2 separate regions of the Homo sapiens genome follow, and region 2 is linked to region 1. Evidence: promoter capture Hi-C in 16 types of primary human blood cells and fetal thymus (Javierre and others, 2016). All regions are on one chromosome and are shown on one strand. Each heading gives the region's core, a stretch centred on a gene start or on the middle of the fragment in contact. The rest is flanking DNA. Distances are from core to core; before and after follow the strand shown.

The links. Contacts are between HindIII fragments. The CHiCAGO score rates a contact against its expected background, and 5 or more counts as called.
Region 2: a fragment that was not itself captured here is called in contact with the fragment with the promoter of PRXL2A in region 1 in 1 of 17 cell types (M2 macrophages); the score reaches 7.4 in M2 macrophages.

The regions. Positions count from the first base shown.
Region 1 is chr10:80,405,411-80,410,436 of GRCh38, reverse strand. PRXL2A (peroxiredoxin like 2A) reads right to left here and starts at 1,886. Exons shown (of 6, transcript NM_032333.5): 1 at 1,794-1,886. RefSeq lists enhancers at 1-92, 939-1,532 and a silencer at 1,818-2,107. The HindIII fragment of the contact is 7,614 bases long and covers 1-4,424 here.
Region 2 is chr10:80,926,913-80,931,938 of GRCh38, reverse strand. No RefSeq gene overlaps it. Among named protein-coding and RNA genes, the nearest start is that of LINC02655, 280 kb to the right of the region's middle. RefSeq lists an enhancer at 4,703-5,026. The HindIII fragment of the contact is 4,058 bases long and covers 63-4,120 here.

The sequences.
Region 1 (5,026 bases), core at 637-3,136:
TCTAGGTCTGGTGGGAACACTGGCTTGTCTCAGCCCCTCTGGCCTGCAGGCCCGCTCCATGCTATTCCTGTAGCAGCTAACACTGCCTCCTGCACTAGCAGTGCCAGAGAAGGCAAAGGACACTGCCCAGCTGTAATTTCCCTGTGCCAGAGGCCACTGAGCTCAAAGGTGAGGCTGGCTCTCTGCACAGAACCTCAGGATGGTTCTTGCCACACAAGCCACAGCAGAGAGACTTGGAGCTTCTGCTCAACATTTCACAAAGAAGCAAGAACCCAACTGGCAGGACAGCTGCCCTATTGCTTAGATAGGGACAGAGCCTGGGGCTTGAGCCCTAGAGTTCCAGTCCTATCCAAACTTTCTGAGCACCATTTAAATGACACGAGATGAGAAAATCATCAGAAATGTCTTTTGTACCCCTTCAGAAGTAATGCAGAAGGTCTCAACTAAATGACATGCTCTTATAAAAGACGGGGATATAGGAAAGGCCCACACCAAGAATAATATCTAACTTTAATTCTTGCAAGCTGTATAAACCTGGACAAGGAACTGTTTTGCATCAGTAAAATGGGAATGCTTCCTTAATTACCTTCTACAGAGTTGCAAGAATCAAAGGATTAAATGTATAGGAGGTGCCTTGTGAGGTACCTTACAAAAAGTGCAATAAATACGATGTATAATTCTTCATTTCTAGAGCAATGATTACCCTCAAAACGTTATTTGTACACAAAATGAAGAGTTTTCTGATGAATGAGTATGGTAACGAGTCGGGGTCTGCAGTGGAAATCCCAATCCTCATTCTCCAAAGCTGGGCCCGAGCAGGAGCATTCAAGACTATTCAAGCTGACTTTTTCACAATGCTTTTCAAAACAAATCTTGATTATTTTCTTTTTGAAAAACCACCTGCCAGGTTCAAAGGAAAATACATTAAAATAAAACAAACAAAAAAGCTGAGTTCTGGGTTGCTGGGCTGTGCAGACAGCATGATGTGGCAAGGAAAAGAGGCGCAGGAGCAGCTGGGAACCCCGGTCCGGCAGTGGACTCCCGGGTGTGCCTCCTTCCCACAGCCCTGGACCGGCTGGGCCTTGACTTCCCTTCCTTTGCCTCTAACCATCTCCACCTGCGCCTTCACCTCCCGCTCCAGCAACAACCCTGGGGGCAGATTGTTCATCTTTTCATTCCTAGACCTCAGCAGGGCTGTTAAGTTTACAACTGGGCTCTACCCAATTTAAAGTCAGGCGTTTGTGACTCTTGGGAAAGAGGGGGAACAGGTGCCTCCGAAACGCTGAACAACGCTAGAAACCGTGCCCTCTTAAAAGACACGACCCTAAGCGGGCACAGAGACGAGGACGAGGACTGCCAGGTCCGCACCTGGGGCTGGTCCAGCAGGGCGGCCCCCGGGCCCATGCTCCAGGGCAGGGCCCTCTCCTCTGTTCTTTGTCCCAACAATTCGCGAAGGTTGGCGCCACCGGCGTCACTCAAGGCTTGCGGGCGTGGACAGAGGGGGCCCTAGCCCGCCGCAGCAGCGCCGGGTCCCCGTCTCCGTTCTCCGACGTCTGGGCGCAGGGTTTTTCCATCGGCCGCCACGCAGGGTGGCGGAAGGGTCGTCGTCCTCGGAGGGAGCGCCAGCGCTGCGGCGGCTCCTAAGAAAGTTGGCGCGGGCCCGAGGGGCGCGCCTCACCAGCCCAGCACCCACCCTACCGGCCCTGCACTGCCTCAGTTTCCCCACCTACGCCGCGGCAGGCCCCGCCTACGGACATCACGTGCCTCGCGGAGCCCCGGCGCGCAGCACCTACCTCAAGTGCCTCCCTTCTGCCGGCCTTTTACCGCCCCGACGCCCGGGCGCTAAGGGGCCAAACCGCCCGGCCCGGAGGGTCCCAGGGGCGGGCCCCGCGCTTGCGCAGCCTCTAGCCTGTGCTGCATCGCGCGCTACCGCGCCACCGCCATGTGACCCGCCCCGCCCCCCGTGGGAGGAGCTCCGGGCCTGCCCCCGACTCGCCGACCTCCGGGCCGCGGTCTCCTAGCTCCGGTGGCGCTCGGGCGTGTGCCCCAGCGGTCCTTTTACGCACAGCGCTCGGTCGGTCCACTCCTCAAGTCCGCGAACCGAGGCCCCGACGCGTTCTTCAGGGCGCTGCCTAGGGCAAAAGAAGGCGCTGGACACCCCTAATGGAGCCTGGAAGCACCTGTCCTGCAGCCGAGGCTGGCCAACTTCCTTCCAATCTTCAGCCTGGTTTTGAATAGCTCTTTTGATAGGTTTTTTTTTTTTTTTTAACCTCCATGGGCAGGGGGAATCTAAAGGACCGACACATTCGATGAGCCCCTTCAAGCTGTATGTACAGATTCAGAATTTCCAACCTCAATCCTCCACCCACGTTCCCTTTCACTCCACAATGCCAGCTATGGGGCAGAGAACGGTGAGCCGCAGCCTTGCGGACTCCGGGCGACGCTGAGGCGGGTGTGTCACACACCGCTCATCCACTTACTCCTCCTGTTGGAAGTGCCCACTCTTTCATGAAAGTAGGAGGTTGTGTCCGGCGCGCTGGCTCACGCCTGTAATCTCAGGGCTTTGGGAGGATCGCTTGAGCCCAGGAGTTCAAGACCAGTCTGGGCACCATAGTAAGACTCCATCTCTACGTAAAAAACAAAAACTAGCCAGGCATAGTGGCGCGTGCCTGTATTTCCAGCTACTCTGGAGCTGAGGTGGGAGGATCGCTTGAACCCGGGAGGCGGAGGTTGCAGTGAGCCCAGATCGCGCCACTGCACTCCAGCCTGTCTTTAAAAAACAAAAAAAAGACCCTGTCTTAACAACAAAAAACAAAAAGTAGGAGGTTGGACTTTCAGAGACAGCAGAGCTGACTCACGATACATATTAGTGGTTGGCCGGGCTCGGTGTCTCATGCCTGTAATCCCAACACTTTGGGAAGCCAAGGCGGGCAGATCACTTGAGGGCAGGAGTTCGAGACCAGCCTGACCAACATGGCAAAACCTCGTCTCTACTAAAAATACAAAAATTAGCCGGGTGTGGTGGCGCGCACCCGTAGTCCCAGCTACTCAAGAGGCTGAGGCAGGAGAATAGCTTGAACCCCGGAGGTGGAGGTTGCAGTGAGCCGAGATGGTGCCACTACACTCCAGCCTGGGTGACAGAGTGAGATTCCGTCTCAAAAAAAAAAAAAAAAGACATATCGGTGACACAGTGCAAAGACCAGTCACAGGGCAGCATAAGGTGAAGTGGCAAAGCAGGCCGATGTCCGCCCGTCAAAGGTGGTCATTTGCCTGCAACACCTTCCCCCCTTCATCTGGGAGCTGCCCACAGGTGTACAAAGTCCAAAGGCTTCCGTGATTCACCTCCCTGACTTCCCACTCAGACTCCATGTTCCATGTAAACTTACAGCAACACTTGGGGAGCTTGATCTATTCAAGGGGGTCTCTCCTCAACCAAACTGTGAATTCCTCCACTTCACCTCTGGGACCCTAGAGCCTGGCCCAGGGACAGCGTGGAAATAAACTTAGAAAACGTGAGAGGTGGATCTAAGTTGTGGGGTAAGGGAGATCAGCCTGAGTGCCCATGCAGTTTTCCTGCAGGAGTTAGGCATATGATTTGAAGGCCAGAAAATATTTCGTATACTTTGGTGCAATGCGGGTGTAGTTTTATATATATATATATATATATATATATATATATGATATATAAGATATATATAAGATATATATGAGATATATAAGATATATATGATATATGTATAAGATATGTATGATACATATATCTCTCTCCAGAGGACCTTTCTTTCTTCTCCCTTGTTTCTCCTTACCTTGTGAAGAGGAGCGGGAGAAGGGTCAATCTTTCCATCCCAAAATAGGAAGTTCAAAGGTGAGGAGGGTTTGCAGGGAAGGCCACTTAGAACAAAACAGGAAGTCATTTCCTTGGGAAATGAGTTCTTGGAGACTGACCATTAATGACAGAGCCATTCAGGGGTTGAGGATAGCAGAATTCTGGGGTGGAAGGTCCCCTGAGGCTTTAACTGTGATGTAATTACTAATCACGTGCAAAAGTCATGCTTATATTTACACTTCGGTAACATCCTGAAGATCTGGACTTCAAAAACCAGGCTACATCTGATAGCTAATTAATATGCTCCTCACATGCCCACGTTTCTTTTTGTACAAGAAAGCACAGGCTGAACTCATTAAAAAACAGTCATTAGACCAGAAAAATAAGTTACAGGCAAGCAGGCGCAGGAAAACTTATTTACAAAGCTCAAGGACTAAAACCAAAAACCAAACCAAAACAAAAAACCTGAAGAATAAACCAAGAAAACCCACCAACCTGCCCAGCTTTTAAGAGAAAAATAATTTAAATTTTGTAAAGATTGTAAAATAGCCTTAGGTTCTGAATTTCAGGTGGTAGAAATTAAGGTTGACTAGAAGCTTTGTGATAACTTTAGATAATGTTACCATCTTGACAGGGGCTGGGAAACTTTTCTGTCCCTCACAAGTCCCATAGGGCAGGCAGAAAACACTGCTTGCAGGAGGCAGATCTGGGTAAAGACTCCTGACTTTTTCAGCGTCATAGCACTTCTAGATTCAGCTGGCTTCAGCTTCGTCTGCTACTCAGCAGTGACTGAAGTAACATGATCTTTTTAAGCTTATGGCCCTGTGGTGTCTGGGCTCGCTGGGAACAGTCAGGAAGCAGCTAGCATCAAGATGAAAATAGAGCAAAAACTGATACTTCACTTCAATATGTCAGGCCCAGGTTACCATTCTGTGGATGGGTAAAAGCGAAATCAAGAACAAGACTTGTATGTGAATCTCAAAAATAGATGTGCATAGATCAGCTTCAAATATTTTCTCTATATGCCAATATCCCTGAATTCAGCTCTTTCTTATTTGTTTTAAGCATAAAAAATCCTATACTTCCACAGTGTGTCTCAAAGCAAAGCAAAGTCAATAGGGACCTCTTTCTAAAACCTTCCATAAATGTGGCCAATGGTTTACCAGGTGAACCGATGGCTGACTGAGGGCTAGATGGTGG
Region 2 (5,026 bases), core at 842-3,341, 520 kb before region 1:
GTTCAATCTCATTTTCAATTATAGGTCTATTTATATTTTCTATTTCTTCTTTTTTTAAAGCTTTATTGAGATATAATTCATACACTGTACAGTTTTCCCATTTAAACTGTACAACTCAATGGTTTTAAGTACATTTTACAGATATGTTTAATTATCACCAGAGTCAAATTTATAACATTTTTATGACCTCAAGAAAGAAACTCTATCCCCTTTAGCTATCATCCTACTTTCATCCTGTGTTCCCCTGCTCCACACCCAAGCCTAAGCAACTACTATGTTCCAACTCTATAGGTTTCACTATTTAAAACTTTCATATAAATGGATTCATATAATATGTGCTCTTTTGTGACTGACTTCTTTCACTTAATATAATGTTTTCAAGGTTTATTCATGTTGTAACATGTATCAGTTCTTTATTATTTTTATGACTAAAGAATATTTTGTTCATTCATTTTGGGTTCCTTCTGCCTTTTGGAAATTATGAATAATGCTGCTATAAGTATTTGTATACAAGTTTCTATGTGCACATATGTTTTTACTCTTCTTGGGTACACACCTAGGATTGGAATTTCTGGATCATATAGAAAGTCTGTCTTTAATCATTTGATGAACTGCCAGATTGTTTTCCAAAGTGGCTGCACCATTGTACATACTCGACAGTATATGAGGTTCCAATTTCTTCAACTCTTCAGCAACATTTGTTTTTATCTGACTTTCTGATTACAACCATCAAGGGGGTGTAAAGTGGTACCTCATTGTGGTCTTATTTGTATTTACCTGATGACGAATGATGTTGAGTGTCCTTTGTTTATTGACCATTTGTGGTCTTTCTTGCAGATATTTCTATTCAAATAATTTGATTGTATTTTAACTTGATTGTCTTTTTATTATTAATTGACAAAATTTTTAAATTTTTTTAGGTATAGATTATCAGATTGCAAATATTTACTTCCATTCTGTTGTCTTTTCACTTTTTTGATGGTGTCCTTTGAAGCAAAAAGTTTTTAATTGCAATTAGGTCTAGCTTATTTCTTCTCTCATTGCTCATGCTTTTAGTGTCATATCCAAGAATATTTTGCCAAATTCAAGGTCAGGAAGATTTACCGCTACGTTTTATCATAAGAATTTTACAGTTTAGCTCTTACATTTAGGAATCTGGTCCATGTAGAGTTAATTATTGCATATGGTATAAGGTAGGGGTCCAACCTCATTCTTTTGCATGTGACATTCCAATTGTCCCAGCACTATTAGTTGAAAAGATTTCTTTCTCCTTCTAATGGTCTTAGGACCCTTGATGAAAATCACTCAACCATAAATGTATGGGTGTATGTATGGACTCTAAATTCGATTTCATTCAGCTATACGTCTATCCTAATGCCAGTATACAACCTTGCTTACTGTTGCTTTATAGTAACTATTGAAATAAAAAAAAGTATGAGTCCTCCACTTTGTTCTTTTTTTCCCCCAAGGTTATGGATCACTTGGAATTCCATATAAGTTTTAGAATTAGCTTGTCAATTTCTACAAATAAGTAATTCAGGATTCTTACAGTGATTGCATTGAATCTGTTAGAACAATTTGGGAATTATTGCCATCTTAATGTTAAATCTTCAGATTCATGAACATGGAATGTTTATCCACTTATGTAGGTCTTCTTTAATTTCTTGCACAATATTTTACAGGTTTCAGGGTACATGTTTTTGCATTTCTTGTTTAGTTTATCACAAAGAATTTTATTATTTTCAATGTTGTAAACAAAATATTTCTCTTAATTTTATTTTCAGATTATTTATTTCCAGTGTACAGAAATACAACCGATTTTTTAAATTTTGTAATCATGCTTAATTCATTTATTCTAATGGATTTTTAGTGGATTCTTTGGGATTTTTTTATATATAAGATATTGTCATCTGTAAACAGAGAGAGCTTTATTTCTCCCTTTCTATTTTGAATGTCTTCTATTTTTGTTTTTGCCTAATTTCCCTGGCTAGATCCTCTAGGAAAACATTAAGTAGAAGTGGTGAGAGTGACATCCATGTCTTGTTCCTGATCTTAGGAGCAAAGCATCAGTCTCCTACCATGAAGTATGATGTTGGCTCTGGGTTTCTCATAGATGTTGTTATTGGCTGAATGTTCATGTTTCTGCAAAATTAATATGTTTAAATTTAACCCCAATGTGGTAGTATTAGGGCCTTTGAGAGGTAATTATGTGATGAGGGTAAAGCCCAAACAGTGTGATTAGTGCCCATATAAGAATAAGCCAGAGAGTTAGCTTGCTCTTTCTGCCATGTGAGAATACAACAAGAAGTTAGCAGTCTACCAGAAGAGGGCCCTCACAAGAACTTGACCATGCTAGTTCCATGATTTTAACTACCAGCCTCCAGAACTGTGAAAAATAAGTTTCTGTTGTTTGTGGGCCACCCAGCTTATGGTATTTTGTTATAGCAGCTGAGCTAAGACAATAAAATTCTAGTTATTTTCTTAGTGATACCTGGGGATTATAATTAACCTCTTAAACTTATAACAATCTATTTTTAATTAATTCAATTTAGGCTCAATAATATACAAAATCCCTGCTTCTATACAGGCTACCCTTGCCCCTTTATGTTGTCACAAATGACATCTTTATTCATTGTGCTCCAATTAACATAGATTTACAATTTTTATGTATTTGTCTTTTAAATCATTTACAAATGGAAAGAGTTACAAATGAAAAATTCCACAATACTGGCTTTAGTATTTACATATGTTGCTACCTTTGCCAGGGTTCTTTCTTTCTCATATGATTTCAAGTTACTTTCTTGTGTCTTTGCTTTTGCCTGAAGGACTCTCTTTATCATTTCATGTGTTACATGTTTGCTAGTGACGAACTCCCATCACTTTTGTTTATCTGAGGCTCTCCTAACTTTCCCTCCATTGTTGAAAAAGAATATTGCTGAATATGGAATTCTTGAGTAACAGATATTTTTTCCTTCAGCACTTTTACTATGTCATCCCACTGCCTTCTGACTTCCAGTTTCTGCTAAAAATTGGCTGTCAATGTCATTGAGGGTACCTGGTATGTGACAGTCACTTTCCTATTGCTGCTTTCAGATTTTCTTTATTTTTAACTTTTGACAGTTTGATCATAACATAGCTCAGTGTGGACCTCTTTGCATTTATCCATCCTGGAGTTCAATGACCTTCTTAGATATGTAGTTTTGTGTCTTCTATCAAATTTGGGAAGTTTTCAGTCATTATTTCTTCAAATATTATTTCCCCATTCTCTCTTCTTTTGAGAGTCCCATTTTGAGTATATGTTGGATGGTGCCCCAAGGGTCTCTTAGGCTCTGTTTATTATCTTCATTCTCTTTTCTTTGTGCTACTCTTTCTTAATAATTTTAATTAACCTACCTTCAAATTTGCTGATTCTTTCTTCTGCCTGCTCACATCTGCTATTGAAATCCTCTAGTGGATTTTTTACTTCATTTATTATCATTCTCAGCCCCAAAATTCTTGCTGTGTTTCTTTCTATAACTTATAATTCTTTGTCAATATTTCCTATTTGGTGAGACATAGTTCTTCTGGTTTCTTTTAACTCCTTGAGCATATTTAAAACAGTTGACTTAAAATCTTTGTCTAGTAAGTCATTCAATGTCAGTGATTTCTCAGGAACAGTTTCTGTAGTTTCCCCTATGCATGTGCTATACCTCTTTTATTTGCATGCTTCTTATTTTTTTGTTGAAAACCAAACATCTTGGAATATTATAATGTGGCAACTCTAGAAATATGATTTTTCTTCCCTCTCCAGGGTTTGTTTTTGCTGCTTACTTTGGGTAGAGTTGTTTGCTTAGTGACATTTCTAATAATTTTTGTAAAGTCTAATTCTTTGTCATGTGTAGTCTCTGAAGTCTCTGTTCCTTTAGCTTGGTCAGCTAGGGTATTTACCGTGTCCACCTGGGATAAAGAAAGAAAAAGCAGGAAGAGAGAGAGGAAAGAAGAGAAAGAAACTTTCCCAGTCTTTGGAGATTGGCTCTGTGTTGGGACACTGATTTAATGCTTAGCCAGGCAATTTAGAACTCTGCCTTAGCCTTCTTTAACTGTTTGTGCTGAGCCTAGGGGTCATCCAGAGATAAAAGCTTAGGGTCTTTTCAGATTTTTTTCTGAGCACACGTTTTATGCCAAGCTTGTGTGTGACTTTCAAAAGTCCCTGATATACATGGGTGATATTCTTTCCCTAATTTCCCAAAGAATCTTTCTCCCAGGCTTTCAGCGTGTGTACTATTTGTGTCAACTGTAATCTTTAGCCCCAGATAGCACCGGGTTGCTCATTTGCCTTACAATGTTTTCAAGAAATACCCTAGGTATAGGTGCTTTCCTGCCCTGAAAAAGTTCAAAACTAGGTAAAACAAAGGCAAATGCTTTATATCAGTTCTTCAGGTAGTCCCCAAACAGTCAAAACAGACCAAAAAAGTTATTTGAGATTAAGTTTTTTTCTGCTCCGTCCAAAAGCAGGGACCAAGGCTTCACACTGGGAACAGCAGCTTCTGTCTTTAGACCACAACTGAGCTAGGGATGGCAGAGGGGTAAAAGCAGATAAAACTGCCACAAAGCTTTCTTGCCATTTTTACGTTATCTTTTTTGATTCAGTGTTTGCTTATTTGCTATAAATTTTTGACTATTTCCCAGAGTTCTGACAAAGTTGATTCTGACCATTTTCATTCAATTTTTCAGTGTTTTTTCTGGAGAGGCAGGCCTTTGGAACTACCTACTCTGTCATTTTAACCGTGGCCACTAAACTCATTGTAATTTTAAGTCAGTTATGATCAACTTGGCCCATTTTTTGCCTTTGCCTCCCAGTTTTGGGAGATTTTTTAACAGTGTGACATTTTAAGTAAGATCCCCTGCCTTTGAATTTCAGCTCTCCACTTACTAGATATGTGATCTTCAAGTGGTCACTCCATGAGGCTTAGTTTCAGTATTTGTAAATTAGGGATGATAACAATAACAATCATGTCCAGCTGTGAGGGGATATTAAAAAATGACA